2 separate regions of the Homo sapiens genome follow, and region 1 is linked to region 2. The links are contacts of gene promoters, found by promoter capture Hi-C in blood cells and fetal thymus (Javierre and others, 2016). All regions are on one chromosome and are shown on one strand. The core of a region is centred on a gene start or on the middle of the fragment in contact, and the rest is flanking DNA. Distances in the headings are between cores, read along the strand shown.

Evidence for each region. Contacts are between HindIII fragments. The CHiCAGO score rates a contact against its expected background, and 5 or more counts as called.
Region 1: a contact is called between a fragment that was not itself captured here and the fragment with the promoter of RLF in region 2, in 1 of 17 cell types (neutrophils). The highest score is 5.4, in neutrophils.

What each region holds. Positions count from the first base shown.
Region 1 is chr1:40,674,951-40,678,105 of GRCh38, reverse strand. It overlaps a transcript of RIMS3 not described here. Among named protein-coding and RNA genes, the nearest start is that of RIMS3, 11 kb to the right of the region's middle. The HindIII fragment of the contact is 4,589 bases long and covers 1-3,155 here.
Region 2 is chr1:40,159,733-40,163,192 of GRCh38, reverse strand. It overlaps RLF (RLF zinc finger), which reads right to left and starts at 1,806. Exons shown (of 8, transcript NM_012421.4): 1 at 1,557-1,806. The coding sequence starts at 1,793. It overlaps LOC105378671 (a long non-coding RNA gene), which reads left to right and starts at 1,915. Exons shown (of 3, transcript XR_947232.3): 1 at 1,915-2,228. RefSeq lists enhancers at 902-1,517, 1,521-2,030, 1,518-2,134 and a silencer at 3,143-3,344. The HindIII fragment of the contact is 5,693 bases long and covers 1-3,460 here.

The sequences.
Region 1 (3,155 bases), core at 417-2,916, 520 kb before region 2:
ATACTGAGGGAGGGATAGACTGATGGTTCTCAACCTTTTCTGTCTTCTGCCAAGTGTTCCATAAGAAAAACAAGAAAACAGTGTTTTCCAACAGAATTTATTCTTGCCATTACCCAAGGAACAGTATTGAAAACATTACATCCAACCTAGCTTACTTCTGTGACCTCCTGGTGCTTCGCAAGCCACTGTGGGACAGCTAAGTCTCTGTAGAGGGTACAGGTTAAGATTATGAATGATCCCTGCAGGCACCAAAGGGGCATACATGTCAAGAACACGACTTTTCTTCAAGGTCCCTTGCCTTGGCTAGCAGTGTGCAAAATAGGGTTGGGCAGGTCTTGAGAAAATGACTATAAACATTAAGTGTGATCCTTTTTTTTTAATTAATTATTTATTTATTTATTATTTTTTGAGATGTAATCTCGCTCTGTCACCCAGGCTGGAGTGCAGTGGTGTGATCTCAGCTCACTGCAAGCTCCGCCTCCTGGGTTCACGCCATTCTCCTGCCTCAGCCTCCCAAGTAGCTGGGACTACGGGCGCCCGCCACCATGCCTGGCTAATTTTTTGTATTTTTAGTGAAGACGGGGTTTCACCGTGTTAGCCAGGATGGTCTCGATCTCCTGACCTCGTGATCCGCCTGCCTTGGCCTCCCAAAGTGCTGGGATTACAGGCATGAGCCACCGCACCCGGCCAAGTGTGATCCTTGATTGTAAGCCTTATAGATCCTACTGAGCCATCAACCTGCTTTGTGACCTTGGGCAAGTCACTTAATCAAGTTCAATCTCAATATTTCCACCTTATATTAGGCCGGCACGGTGGCTCACACCTGTAATCCCAGCACTCTGGGAGGCTGAGGCGGGCAGATCACCTGAGGTCAGGAGTTCGAGACCAGCCTGGCCAACATGGTGAAACCCCATTTCTACTAAAAATAATTTTTAAAAAATTAGCTGGGCATGGTGGTGCACACCTGTGATCCCAGCTATTCAGGTTGTTGAGGCAGGAAAATCACTTGAACCTGGGAGGCAGAGGTTGCAGTGAGCTGAGATTGCACCACTGCACTCCAGCCTGGGTGACAGAGAGAGACTCTATCTCAAAAAAAAAAAAAAATTCCACCTGTTTTTAAAAAAGGCATAGGAATAATTTATTTTACATTATTTGAAAATAAATTGTCCTAAGGGGGTAGAGGGAATGGGAGAAGTGATAGATATTATCCAGGTATTATCCTCTGCCTCTCCTTCTTGTCCATCCTGCCTGAGTTTTTTTCATCAAGTAAGATGATAAGTGTTAAAATGCTCTGAAAAGTGCAAAACACCATACAAAAGCAAGGGAGTATTATTATCAACATAGTTGTTAGCTTAGGAGGATGAAGGCAGGGCACAGGCTCAGAGCCAAACAGCTGGAAGGCAGGAAATCTTAATACCAAAGAAGGAAACTTTTTTTGTTCAAATTCTTCCTGGAGTGGCACTTTTTTTTAGAGCAGATTTGGCACTGAAATCCTCTGAAATGCTGAAGTGGGTCCAGAAAAGTATTAAGGGGGTACGTAGGGCATTCAGGAGCCAAAAGACACTGGAGAAACACCAGCCCTGGTTCCTCAGTTCCTTTGTGATCCAACAAAAGATACAATCGAAGGAGGAGTCGAATTGTATCAGCGGGTCTCAGGTTCAAAGCCAGGTGGGTGTTGGATCCTCTAACAGGCTCTTTAACCAGCCACCACGCTATTTTGGGAGCCAGGATGTCAGGGGCACTCTGTAACTAATACTGAACTCAGGTGCCAACAACCTAAAAACCATCCCCTCTACACAGTGTTCAGAAAGAACACTGACCTGGAGAGGACTTTAGAGACAATCTAGTCAGACCGAGGCTCAGAGAGGGGCAGGGACTTGCCAAGATAACACAGTAGAGTCAGGCTCATTGGGCTGCAGAAGCCCACCCAATTTAGCTCAAGTACAAAGGAGTTTCTTGTAAAGACTGGAACTGAAAGGCAGGATGAAGGATAGAGGTCTAGGACTCACTGGTCTATTTATTCTCTATCTTCTCACCACTCCTCATCACTGGATAGGATTGCTCCTTCCCCCTCTACCTACAGTCAGGCTTCTGCCTTCTCTTGGTCTCTGATCCTACTTCTCTGGGCCTGCACATGGCTTTCCTGGCCAAGACCTACTTGTCTATGACTTTTTTTTTTTGACAGGGTCTTGCTCTGTCACCCAGGCTGGAGTACAGTGCCACGATCATCACTCACTGCAACCTCTGCATCCTGGGCTCAAACAATCTTCCTGCCTCAGCCTCCCAAGTAGCTGGGACTACAGGCATGTGTCACTATGCCTGGCTAATTTTTTTTTTTTTTTTTTTTGAGATGGAGTTTCACTCTTGTTTCCCAGGCTGGAGTGCAATGGCACGATCTCAGCTCACCGCAACCTCCGCCTCCCAGGTTCAAGTGATTCTCCTGCCTCAGCCTCCTGAGTAGCTGAGATTACAGGTGTGTACCACCACGACTGGCTAATTTTTGTATTTTTAGTAGAGACAGGGTTTCACCATGTTTGCCAGGCTGGTCTCGAACTCCTGACCTTAGGTGATCCTCCTGTCTCAACCTCCCAAAGTGCTGGGATTACAGGCATGAGCCACCGTACCCAGCCTAATTTTTATATTTTTTGTAGAGACAGGGCTTTGCCATGTTGCTTAGGCTGGTCATGAATTCCTGGACTCAAGTGATCCACTTGCCTCAGCCTCCCAACCGGTTGGAATTACAGGCATGAGCCACCATACCTGGCTGTCTCTGACTTCTCTACTTCAACTCCTTCTGCCACCTGACAATTTCTTTCCTTTTTTTTTTTTCCTGAGACAGGGTCTCACTCTATCACCCAGGCTGTAGTGCAGTGGCATGGCACGATCTTGGCTCACTGCCACCTCTGCCTCCCAGGCTCAAATGATCCTCCCACCTCAGCCTCCAAAGTAGCTGAGAATACAGGCATGCACCACCATGCTTGGCTAATTAAAAAAAATTTTTTTTCCTTTCGTAGAGACAAAGTCTCACTGTTGTCCAGGCTGGTCTTGAGCTCCTGGGCTTAACTGATCCTCCCACCTTGACCTCTCGAAGTTCTGGGGTTTTGTGTGTGAGGCGCCATGCCTGGGACAACAATGTCTTTCTCTTCCTTGGTTCA
Region 2 (3,460 bases), core at 557-3,056:
AACTAAAGTGGCCTCTCCCAGTTACTTCTTTCTAAGCACATACTACAATTTATAATTAACCTTTTTACTTATTTTTCTAGTTAATTGTCTTTCCCATCAGGATATCCCATGAAGGCTCTCTCCTCACCATTGTCTCTACAACACCTCCTTTTCCATCATTACCAAAACCGCACTGGAAATACTGTCATTCCTACCACCTCCCACCAACTGTAAGTTCATCAAGGCTAAGTGCTGTCTTACTCATGTTTCCCCAGCACTTGGTAAAGTCCCTGGCACTATCCTATGAAGTCAGTAAAAATCTGTAAAATAAATGAGCTTACTAAACAGGGATGACTACTACTAAGGAAGCAGAGAACAACAACACGTTAACATTTAATAGTACAGGGCAATGTTGCAGGTTGTACACACAAAAATTGGAGTGGTACAATCCACGGAAAAGATTAGTAAGGACAAAATTCCATTCAGAGAGATGAGGTGCTTCTGCCTCGGCAGAGAGAGGGAAGAAAAGCAATCAAGCAAGCTAACTTTTATTCTACTCCGGACCAACAGAGCAAATTGCCCCCCAAAATTATTATTTTAGAACGCCGCAATTTATTCAGCATACTGGACTACTTATTAGACTCCAAGTACCAACATGCCACGATTATTTTGCATTTTCTAAGGTACAACAGATAAGGAGCTGATGGGTGCCTCTGAAACCTGACAGAACAAACATTGGAAGCAGAAATAATAATGGCCAATATTTGTATTTGTAAAAGACTTGAAAACATACAGAAAAATCTCGGAGTGGTCATGGAGACTAAACTAAACACACCCATAAATATGTAATCATAGGTTAGGACCCACCAAGGCACAGAAATGATCATACGACTGCCAAAAGAGGCCACACTCTACATCCCTCTTCCCATCCTCTTCTACTCAAAGAGTCAGCCTTATTCTCGGTAGCACAATCCTCTCAAAGAAATACAGAAAAGACGAAAGAACGGCTTAAACGTAAAAAAAAAAAAAGCAAAAACCAAACAACCAACCGGCTCCGCAATCCCTAATCAGAAAGCTCTAGACGCCTTTCGAAGCCAACTGTCATACCTTTTAGGAGCCCAGAAGATGTTAACTCCAAAAATAAGTCTCTGGCCCCAACACACCTCTCTGGATTATTCAGAAAAACCCGGGTTTACCAGTTCGGAGATCTGCACTCCACTCAAAAAAGGATCTCCCGGCAGGGACAAGCAATCAATCCCTCAGGGGGCAGTGGCGCTCCAACCACCCGGCCAGGACACAGGCAACGGCGACAGGGCACAGCCCTTCCAGGGACCCGCCAGGGCCCTCCGGGATCTCAGTAAGGCTCAGAGCAAAACGACCCAGCGGTGGCCAAAGTCGGGCAGTGGCGCAGGGGGGCCAGCGGTCGAGCTTCCGAGCTGGGCCTTCCCGGCCCGGGGGCGCGGCGAGTCACGGAGGTGGCGCCTTTCAGTTTGGACCCGGCTGCTTACAGAGGATCCAGGGCCTCCTTCCCTGACTTCCCCGCCCCGCCGCCCTCAGCCAGCCAGTCAGCCCCTCACCTGGCAGAAGCTCCGGCAGTAGTTCAAAGATGAGACCTCCGACACCTCTTGCTCCCTCAGCTCTGTCTCCAGCTGCCACAGACACGGCCGCAGTCCCGAGGCTCCCGGCGCTGGAGATACGGGGCGATGACCCCGAACCATGGACTCAGTCTCGACTCCATCTCCGGCTCCCGCTACCGCCGGAGCCTCAGCCCCAGCCCCGGCGACAGCGGCGGCGTCTCCCTTTCCGTCCGCCATCTTCCCACGGCCCACCAGCGCGTAGGCAACCAAGCCACGTGACTCAGCCCTGGCCCTGCCCCCGGCCGCCCGCGCACTGTGACGCACTCCTTAGCGACGCGGGCGCCCGCCTGATTCCGTCACTCGGACTCCGGGTGCTCTCAGTGGCCTACGCATCGCCAGTCCTGACAACAGCCTAGCAACAACTGGCTAGAGGCTATGCCCACCTAGACCCCTTTGAGGTCATGGGATCACGGAGCCAGAAATGCCTGTAGAGCAATCTAGATTTGAGGGGGATGACATTTGAACTGCGATCTGAAGGGACAAGAGGAAGGTAGCCCTGAAAGGAACATAGCGAAAAGCATCCCTGGTAGAAGGAAAATAAGCAAAGATTGTGAGGCCGAAATGAAGAGTAACATCAAGGGAACTTGGTTTATGATACAGACGGCATTACAAGTCAGTGGGCGAAAGGACAGACTCTTCAATAAATGGCGATGAGACATTTTTTCCAAAAGGGAAATAAATGATTAGATTTCTACCTCAAACCATTTCCAAAAATAAGGCCGAGATGGATTAAAGACCTGCAAACATTTTTCAGAAAATAAAAATAGCTTTATAATGTCAAAAATAGGGAAGAATTTTTTTTTTTTTTTTTAGACGGAGTCTCACCCTTGTTGCCCAGGCTGGAGTGCAACAGTGCTATCTCAGCTCACCGCAACCTCCGCCTCCTTGGTTCAAACATTCTCCTGCCTCAGCTTCCGGAGCAGCTGGGATTACATGCATGCGCCACCATACCTGGCTAATTTTGTATTTTTAGTAGAGATGGGGTTTCTCCATGTTGGTCAGGCTGGTCTCGAACTCCTGACCTCAGGTGATCCGCCCGCCTCAGCCTCCCAAAGTGCTGGGATTAGAGGCGTGAGCCACCGCGCCCGGCTAAGAATTTCTTAATAAGACCGGAAAAGCACAAACCATAAGGGAAAATATTTAGATTTGACTGTATTAAAATGTGTTACTTCCGTATAACAAGTTGAAAAAGCACACAAAGACAAGCCACAGACTAAATGATATTCCCCATATATATAACCATTGTTTATTGTTGTTGTTTTTTGAGACAGGGTCTCACTCTGTCACCCAGCCTGGAGTGCAGTGGCACGATCTAGGCTCACTGCAACCTCTGCCTCTCAGGTTTAAGTGATTCTCGTGCTTCAGCCTCCCAAAGTAGCTGGCACTATAAGCGTCCGCCACCATGCCTGGCTAATGTTTGTATTTTTAGTAGAGGCGGGGTTTCACTGTGTTGGCCAGGCTGATCTCGAACTCCTGGCCTCAAGTGATCCGCCCGCCTTGGCCTTCCAAAGTGCTGGGATTACAGGCGTGAGCCACCGCGCCCAGCCATAACCATTGTTTTGATTAGTATCCAAAACAGTTCCCGGGCTGGGCGAGGTGGCTCACGCCTGTAATCCCAGCACTTTGGGAGGCCGAGGCGGGCAGATCACGAGGTCAGGAGATCAGGACTATCCTGGCTAACACGGTGAAACCCTGTCTCTACTAAAAATACAAAAAATTAGCCGGGCGTGGTGGCGGGCGCCTGTAGTCCCAGCTACTCGGGAGGCTGAGGCAGGAGAATGGCGTGAACCTGAGAGGCAGGGGTTGCAGTGAGCCGAGATCGCGCCACTGCATTCCAGCCTGGG